Regions from separate parts of the Homo sapiens genome. Here region 1 is linked to region 2. Evidence: promoter capture Hi-C in 16 types of primary human blood cells and fetal thymus (Javierre and others, 2016). All regions are on one chromosome and are shown on one strand. Each heading gives the region's core, a stretch centred on a gene start or on the middle of the fragment in contact. The rest is flanking DNA. Distances are from core to core; before and after follow the strand shown.

Evidence for each region. The method cuts DNA at HindIII sites, captures the fragments that hold promoters and counts their contacts. A CHiCAGO score of 5 or more calls a contact.
Region 1: a fragment that was not itself captured here is called in contact with the fragment with the promoter of C15orf40 in region 2 in 1 of 17 cell types (activated CD4 T cells); the score reaches 5.3 in activated CD4 T cells.

Annotation. Positions count from the first base shown.
Region 1 is chr15:81,010,559-81,015,367 of GRCh38, reverse strand. No RefSeq gene overlaps it. Among named protein-coding and RNA genes, the nearest start is that of TLNRD1, 12 kb to the right of the region's middle. The HindIII fragment of the contact is 3,188 bases long and covers 1,344-4,531 here.
Region 2 is chr15:83,010,039-83,014,610 of GRCh38, reverse strand. C15orf40 (chromosome 15 open reading frame 40) reads left to right here and starts at 2,972. Exons shown (of 4, transcript NM_144597.3): 1 at 2,972-3,114; 2 at 4,248-4,374. The coding sequence starts at 3,004. It overlaps LOC124903542 (a long non-coding RNA gene), which reads right to left and starts at 2,870. Exons shown (of 2, transcript XR_007064742.1): 1 at 1,552-2,870. RefSeq lists an enhancer at 2,735-2,794. The HindIII fragment of the contact is 2,628 bases long and covers 1,480-4,107 here.

The DNA of each region.
Region 1 (4,809 bases), core at 1,688-4,187, 2.0 Mb after region 2:
TACCTTTGTTTTAAACAATCCCTTTAATTTAGATAAGATAACCATAATCTTTTATTTCCAGATAGTCTTGATGATAAAATGCAAAAAAAAAAAAATTAAGGAAATGATTCAAATGGGTAGTTGCACATTGGAAATTTTAATTTGCCCAAACGCCCAAATGCCAGTTTGCTGCTGACCTGAGGGTCCCCCTGCATTCCCTGATGGCTTTGGCATAGGATCTCTTTTTCTTCCCTAAGGCTTTAGCTTCTTTCCTCCATTCACAGGAGCCTGATCCTGGAAAGCAAAGAAGTAGGCAGAGATTGCTAGTGGGCACTGCTCACCCCAGAGCCCAGCTTAAGTACACTGTTATAACTAAAACTTGATTATGGAAAGTCATGAGTAATTTCTGTATTATAACAATTATGGGACTCAAAGCCAGGACTCACTCCCTCAGTCAGTTCTCACGCTGATTTCAAGGGCTCCCCAGGGAATATGGTTCTAAGTTCGTTTGTGGGAAAAGACTCCCTTCTTGAGGTGGCATTTTGTTTCGTGACCCCTGCTGGACCTAATACCGCCCTGAGGAGAGAGGCAAGAATCATCACCAGGTTGGCATCCAGTCCTCCAGCTCAGAGCTCAAACTTAGGTGAGGCCCTGGGGTACCTAGACCAGTTAAGGGAAGAGAATTTGGGCCATCCAGGGCCTTGGAAGCCACCCAGATCCCTGGGAAGTCCACAAAAGACCAGACATGCCAAGGCCGCCCCGTTCTGCAGCACAGATGGAGAGTCCTAGTCTTTGGAGTCATCTAGGCTCAAAGGGTTACCACGTGTTCAGAAGGACGGGAAAGATATTTCACATAAAGAGACCAACAAAAGCAAAAGCAGATATAGGAATAAGAACAGCACGGAAAAAGGCCTGAGTTCTGCCCATCATGCTGGAACAGAGGTTGGGCTGGGGGTGGTGGGAGATGAGTGCCATGGCCTGATAAGGGCCTGGTCCTATTCCCTGTGGGACCAGTCCAGTGGCATGCTGTCGGTACTCAATAAGTAGACTATGTGAAGTTGCAGTTTAGGGCCTAGATTTACTACACAAAAGACATGGCTGATGGGAGGAGGTGATGAAAGCATGCCTAATTTGGGCAGGTAATCCAGACTGCAGCTAGGGACTCATTAAGCAGCATTGTTCAGGTGAGGGTCAACAAGGGGCCTAGGCTAGGATGCTGGCTGTGCAGCTGGGGAGAAGAAACAGATGCCAAGGGTATGAGAAAGGAGAATTTGAAAGAATTTGGTAACTGACTGAAGGGAATCTAGCCAAAGGAAAAGGTTAATGAACTATTTTACTCTTGGGGCTTTTCATCTCTAAAAGCTTGATATGACTTATAAACACTACATTTGTTCAGCAGAGATGTTTATTGAGAGCCTCATATGTGTTAGGTAACTGCGTTAATCACTGGAGATAAAAAGATGATGCCACCACCTGATGATGATCCATACTAGGAACATGGATAGGTAAACAGAGAATTACAGTAACTTGATAAATACTAACATAGGGAAAGTGCAGGGTACTACAGGGACCTGCAGGAGAGGGTGCCACCCAGGCTGAGGACTGCGGAAGCGGGTTAAGGAGAAGCAGGATGTGGGGTGAGTGTTCCAAGGGACAGCTTGTGCAACAGCTTGGAGGCAAGAAGACAGCATGACACTGGAAGGACCTCTAAAAAGTATAATTATGGGTAGACTGTGAGAGACCAGACCTGCTAGAAATGCCTCAGTGAGGAGTTTGCCTTTTATCCTAAAGTCCACGGGAGAACCATGGAAGTGTTCCAAGTAGGTGAAGAGCAAAGGCAGCTGCAATTTAGAAATCCAAGTGGAAGTTCCTTGACAAACCAGAGGTTTATCTTCTTCAAGCATCCCTTAGGATACCAGGATCATGAAGCAGGTGGAAAGCCATCTGTCCATGGAATCAACTCTGCCCGAGTCTTTACAAGGGGCCTGTGGGCATCCAGGGCCCTCCACAAATGGTCCAAGAGGAGCTCAGACCAAAGGCTTAAGTGAGGCTTAGGAAGAAACCCATAGGAACTGTCATTGGAAAGATTAAAAATTTAACAGAGTTGAAGAGCATTTCGCCTCAATGGGCAGAGGGACACTATCCTAAAAATCATTCATTCACTATAGCCAAGTGGCTAAGAATGCTGTCTCTGTCACAAGACCTTGATTCTTACCTTTATCCCCCTACTTACTAGTTTCTTTGACCCTAGGCAAGTGGTTTCAATTCAGCATCCTCATCTGTAAAATGAGAACGACTCTTCATACCTCAAAGGGGTTGCTTTAAGGACTGAGAAACACAATGTAAAGTTTCTAGCGTATACATCAGGAGCTCAAAAAAATGCCAGCTATTGATTTTCTTTCATTAAACAAACAATTTAGCATCCTGGTCACCTTCTAGGGATGACAGATGAAAAAGACACAACAGATTGCCTTGAAAAGCTCCCAGTCTATCAGCCAGACAGGTGCACTCTCCAGGCCAGGTGCATCTTCAGGAGCCCAGTTCAGTTCTTGGTGATCCACAACAATGGCGGGCAGCCAGGCTCAGGACTCTTCTGCAAGTGAGCTGGGCCCACTGGCCCCACCCATGGCTGCTGATCCAAGGCCAGGCTAGCTGCTTCAGTGAAGTAGGGGAAAGCTGTTCTGCTTCCTACAGTGCAGATCCCATCCAGCAATAGCCTCACACTCTGCATCAACACCACCTCAGAATTAAAGAGCAGCCAGGCGCAGTGGTTCATGCCTGAAATCCCAGCACTTTGGGAGGCCAAGGAGGGCAGATCACAAGGTCAGGAGTTTGAGACCAGCCAGTTCGAGATCAGCCTCTGGCCAACATGGTGAAACCCCACCTCTACTAAAAATACAAAAACTAGATGAGCGTGGTGGCACTCTCCTGTAATCCCAGCTACTTGGGAAGCTGAGGCAGAAGTGCTTGAACCTGGGAGGTGGAGGCTGCAGTGAGTCGAGATGGCACCACTGCACTCCAGCCTGGGCGACAGAGCAAGACTCTGTCTTGGGAAAAAAAAAATCAAAGAGCAGAACAGAAAATGATCCCTGAGCCTTGGAATAAAGCCTACTTTTTAAGGCACCTGAAACCTCTAACTAAAAACTGCCCTCTGGCTGCACAGAAAATACATTCGATGGAATTCCCACCTACATTATATGCGGTCGCCTGGCACTGAGAGTAGGAAAGTGGGGTTCTGATGTCAACATCCTTCTCCCTGGTCAGCAGGATAATATATCCAGATGATCAAATCTAGGGACTATGAGGCCCCAAACAGCCAAAGATCTAGATTAGAAGATCCTTAGGAACATAAATTATGGCACTTATCCTGGTCCCTTGTAATGTGTTTTATCTTGCTATCACTTCCACTGCATTCTAAGCTCTTATCCATATTCCCAACACTTATTGTTAAGTACAGCATCCTCTCTGTACAGTCAGGCTTAAGAAAGGTCTACTGAACACTGTTGAAAAATCCATGGTGAAGATCCCAGTATCTTGATATCCCCAGGAGGCTCCAACTAATGTCCTATACTCTGTATGGAGTTTGTGAGTCATTCTTCTCTCAGCCACACACATACACACACAGGGAAAAACAATGCAAAAGGAACAATTTAGATTAGGCAATTAGGAAGTTCTTCCAAAAACTCTAAGTGAACTCCCAATAGATAATGCAAAATTCACTTCTTAAGCTATTTGTAAGATGGTAGAAGCATCTAGTCTCTCAGCTCTGAAATCTGACAAGAAGCCATAGAAGTTCAGACCATACAGGATTTCATGGACATGTTTAAAACGAAAAAAAAATCAAATAGGCTTAGTTTTTTTTCAACATTTAAAACTTTTTCCTTGTAGCATTTAAAGTGAATAATTCTCGTATACCCAGGAAAGAATCAACACCCATGATACAGTCAAACCTAAACCATTTATCACACCTAAAGAGAAGATGCTCTGGTGCGTCATGCCAATGCCTACATACTACTCCCCAGTCACCCGAACAATGAGTACTCAATGCTACGCTTTCCTAGGCCTCTGTTTTCTCCAGTTACATAAATGTAACACAAAAGGATGATGCACTTGGAAAATGTCTTCAGCCTGACAAACGGCATCTCAAATTGATTTTATTGGGGAAGACAAAGGACTGGATTTCTAGGGTTGTTTCTAGTTCTAGGATTGTTTCTAACAGTAGTTGTGTGACTTTGAGTAACTCCTTAAGTAAGGTAATATTTTAATACAGAGAACATGCCTAATACTGCCCCAGACACCTAGTAAATGTTTGCTAAATCAGAAACTTTTACCATTGGCCTTGCTAAATCTGACACTATTCTAGACCCAACTAATGAATGGCATAGTAAGTGTCATTACCAGCAACTTGCCCCTATGTGACAATGGGCTAATGCATTCATTTATTATTAATGTGAATCTAGAAGGTGTTTTGTGGCTGCCCAGGATGAAGCAAAACGTCCCAGTGAAGTCAAGAATTGCCAGTGTTTCTAGAAACTTCTGTGGGCAAGAAGCTTTGCTTGCCCTCCAGAAAGAGAGGGATGAGGGGAACTGGAACACTTGAGCCACCTATAAGGATGCATCTTTAGTGGGCACTGTGGTTCATGCTTGTAATCCTAGCACTTTAGGAAGCCAAGGTGGGCGGATTACGTGAGGTCAGGAGTTCGAGACCAGCTTGCCCAACATGGTGAAACCCCATCTCTACTGAAAATACAAAAATTAGTCCCAGCTACTTGGCAGGCTGAGGCACGAGAATTGCTTGAACCCAAGAGGCGGAGGTTGCAGTGAGCCGAG
Region 2 (4,572 bases), core at 1,723-4,222:
CCATTAGGCAATATGTCTTCCCACTCTGCCTCTCTCTCCCTTCAGGAGGCAGGGATGTGGGCAGGAGCAACAAGTCAGGTGCACAGTTTGGTGGCACATGGGGCGGATGGCTTTTCTCCTCCCCACTGGTGCAATGAAGTCCTCATATCCCCTACTCCTGAGTCACGTGTGGGAAAGGCTGAATGGTTCACAGCAGAGCACCTCTTAGCTCTCCTCACCCATCTAGCCAGATGCCATCGTAACTCACCTTCACAGACGTCCCCTTTATTTCCATGACAACTGCCAAACCTCTAATTGAGGCTGACGTGACTTCACCCAAAGCAGATTCTACAAATGACTGCTATATAATGCTGGTTCAGCTTTTGTGCCTCAATTCTTAACTGATTTCAAAGAAGGGAAATATGGTTTTGGTTTAACACCTGGCTCACTTTCTTCTGCTCAAGCCTTTATACTGCATGGCCTCAGTGGCCATGTGGACAACCCAGCTACACCTAGGTTTCCAGTTTCTTCTTTACCTCCAGCAACCTTCACCATTCCTTATCATGGCCACACCATATACCCTATCATGATGTGGAATTGCTCTACATCTGAAATAGGAAATTCAGACATCCCACTCTCTGGCCACAACCTTTGGTGTTTCTTCCAGCTCTCACTCACATTCCAGTTACACCCGTTATTGAACCTAAGACTGCAGCCCCTTGTCCTCTCTGTTCTTTTCTTCTTTACTTCCTTCTTTACCCAGTTAGACTCTACTTTTGGTCTCCCTCAACCCCTCTCCACCTTTGGTCTTTAATAACTTTAACCATTTCATCAATAACCCTCAACCCACTTAAATATACCTGAATCAATCCAGTTGTCTGCCTTATCTTCAACTTCCTGACTGCTTTGGTAGTAGCACTGGGGCCAAAAAAAAATTTAATTAAAAAAAAAACTTCTTAGCTGGTGAATCCAGGCATCTAAAGTAACGTAACTATAGGCCAGGCGCTAGCTCACGCCTGTAATCCTAGCACTTTGGGAGGCCGAAGTGGGTGGATTGCCTGAGCTCAGGAGTTCGAGACCAGCCTGGGCGAAATGGCGAAACGCCCGTCTCTACTAAAAATACAAAAAATGGGTGTGGTGGCGCGCGCCTGTAGTCCCAGCTACTCTGGAGGCTGAGGCAGGGAGAATTGCTTGAACCTAGGAGGCGGAGGTTGCAGTGAGCCGAGATCCCGCCACTGCACTCCAGCCTGGGCGACAGGCTCTTCCCATCCCCCTGTCTCAAAAATAAACAAAAATAAAATAAGGTAACTATAGATTGGGATCATAGATGATTTCACGGTCTCCCTTAACTGTCTACCGCTGGGTGAGTTGCAATAGTCAGCCCTTTGCCATTCTCAAGAGTCCCAATATACCTTCAACACCTCCCCCGCCTTAGTTAATGAAAGAAATTCCACCTCCCATCACCAAACCTACAAACACAGCTACATGTCCACCTAAGCTTTCCCTTAGGAAGGAAGGAGTGTCTAAGGCCTCCTGTAGAGAACTCAATCTCTACTTGAGCTCAGATCCTACCTCTTCAGGAACCGTCCTCTGCTGTAACCTCTCTTCTCCTGGCTCTTTCCTACCAATCTTCAAATATGATAAAAATAAGTCTCTGAATGTCATGTGCCCCTCCAGATACCAATTGCTCCTTCACAGTGAAGTCACTGGATTATTCTCTACAATTATCTCCATTTCCTTCTCTCCACTAAAACTGCTGTAGCCCGGGTCACCACCACCACCCTGATTTCTAAATCTTGTGGCCACTTCTCAGTCGTTACATGTGACATGTTCTCTCCAGAGTGTTCATCACTGTTGATGTTCCCTCTTGAAGCGCCCTTCTTTAGCTGCCGTTACACCGTACTCCTACCTGGTCAGTGTCCTTTGGTGACTTCTCTACCTGCCCTTGCTGTTCTAACCTGGGCCCTCGTGCTCTTTACACACTCTCTCATCCATTTCCATAGCTTCAATTGCCATCTGCTTTCAGAAGATTCCAGAATCTCTATCACCAGCCTTGATTTCGCAAACTCCAGTCACATATATTCAGTTACCCCTTTAACATTTGTATTTGGATGTCCTGTGGGCATCTCAAACTCATTATGTCCAAAGCTGAACTCCTCACCTCGGCCTCCCAAACCTGTTCCTTGGGCCCCAAACCTGGGCATTTCCTTGACTTTTCCCCCTTATTCGCACATGCAGTCATTCCCAAGTTCTGATCATTTCAGTTCCTGAAGATCCTTGAAATGATCAGCGCTCCACCCTCCCTGCGGTTACTCTAGTTCAGGCCACCCTCTCCCATTTAGGGGGCGGATCTCCCTGTCTCTGGCTTTTCCTCTGTCGGCCACAGTGCAGCCGGTGTCTTTCTAAAACCCAGCAAATTGGGCTGCTAATAATCCCTTGCTTGAAAGCCTTCAGTGACTCCATGATCTTGCCTCTGCTGATTTGTTTCATGTCTCTCCATATCACATGTCGCAGTGTATTTCCTCTTCTTTTACATTGTGGGATCCGCTGCGCCTGGCACAAGGTAGGTGCGCCATCGATACGTGGAAGATTCACAAGGGCCAAGCCGCCACGAGGCTCTATATCGACTTGATGGCCACAGGCAGCGCGTGGGACTCTGCATCTGCTGCTTGGCTGTGGGAGCGAGAAGACACCTGGCCCTGTGCACTCCTTGCCGCGCTCTCCAATTCTGAGAAGTGACAATACCTTTCTTTCCCCGATTAGGAAAGAGGTGACACACCTTCCTATCAGCTGAGCAGGGTGGGCCAAGACACGGTGAGGCCTCAGCTCCGCAGCTCCACTTCCTGGGGCTCGGCCCGTTCCAGAACAAAAGAGACTCGCGCATGTTCTGCGGCCACGAGACTCGCTCCCGCCGGCCTTAAGGTGTCGCCCTCTGGCCAGAGCGGATGCGCCGGGCGGTGGGGCCGCTCCTGCCGGCTACCTGCGCAAGCGCAGAGGGCTCTTCCGGCGCCTTCCCAGGCGGGGATGCTGCGGCTCCGCAGCGGGCTGAGGCACCTTCGGGCAACACCCAATACTCGGGGCTCCGCTCGGCTTCTTTGCGCCGAGATGCCTAAGAAGGCTGGTGCGACGACCAAGGCCAGTAGCAGGTCCCGTGGCGGCAGAGGGGTGGGCCTCAGGGGTACTTGTTGAAGAGCGCGGGAGAAGCGGGGCCCGGGAGTGAGTGGAGGCACTGCCAGCGGCTTGCCGTCTCTCAGTTCCGGGGCTCAGGACAGCCGCCGCCACCCCCAGAGCTGCGGCCTGCTGCCGTCGCCCCGCCTCAGTAGGCTGCGCTGCCGTCCACCTGGTGATTTCTGAGCGCTGGGCCCGGCGGCAGCCGAGCTCTCCTTGGGCTGCGTGTGCTGACCTTTGGCCTCCTACCCGCACTCCCAGTCCAGCAATTCATGTTCCCGCAGCGGCATGACCTGCGTTTCCCCAGGAGGCTGTATTCTGCTTTCTCCTCCCTTGCTTTGGCTGATCGCACCCCTTCTGTCAAGAATACAGCACTCCCATTTCCACCATCTTTGTTTGGCCAACCCCAGTCCGTTTCTCAGACTCAGCTCAAGCACTGCCTCCTGCTGGCAGCATTCTCCAGTGCCCCAATGCTGATTTGCCTGTGGGGTAATGTTCTGTGCCTATCTCATCGGTGCACTTAGCACAGTGTATTATAATTTTGTATGTTCTTTCTCCCTCGCAGCAGTCCGAGCTCCTTGAGAGCAAGGACCATGTACCTTTTCATCTTTACATATCCATTGCCTACATATTTGTTGAACGAAAGTTCCTAGCACAGCCCCTGTCCCATAACAGGCCTTTAAATATCAAGCACTATTTTTTTTTCCTCCCTTTCCCGCAACATGCAGACATACACACTTTCACCAACATTTATTAGCTCCGACTGCATGAGATACAATGATGAATAATAAATGATCCCTGCCCCCAAGGAATTGGAAATACAAAGCAGAGGGAGGAGCAAGCATTAAGGTTTAGAAGCCAGAGTTAGGTTTTCTTGCAAGGGGGGAAAAAACACTGTTGGGTTGATGGGAACCCTTCGTGGGAAAATTGAGTAGAGCCTTGAAGGTTGTGGGAAAAGCTTTCTAGGTGGCCAGAAGTCCCTGGACACCACTGATGAGCCTAGTTTGTCTGTTAAGGGTGAAAGGGGGTAGTGGAAGAATCAAATTAAATGTGTGGGAAAATATTTTGTAACCTGTAAAGTTGTGTGGTTGTCATTTTAGGGTAAAAGCCAGAGCAAGGAACCAGAGAGACCACTTCCTCCCTTAGGTCCTGTGGCAGTTGATCCTAAAGGATGCGTCACCATAGCCATCCATGCAAAACCTGGCTCCAAACAAAATGCTGTAACAGGTATACCTGGACACTGGGGTGGGATTCAAGTGTGAATCAGGTGTCTCCTACAGCCCTCCTTTGCTTTGGTTAGCTGAAAGCTTATTCTATGACAGTTGATTTTTCACATCTGCAGTTAGAGGCTTCTCCATTTTAAAATTCTAGATTCTAATGTAAAGGTGTCTTAAAGTGAATATATCTTTAAATCATGCCAAGTTA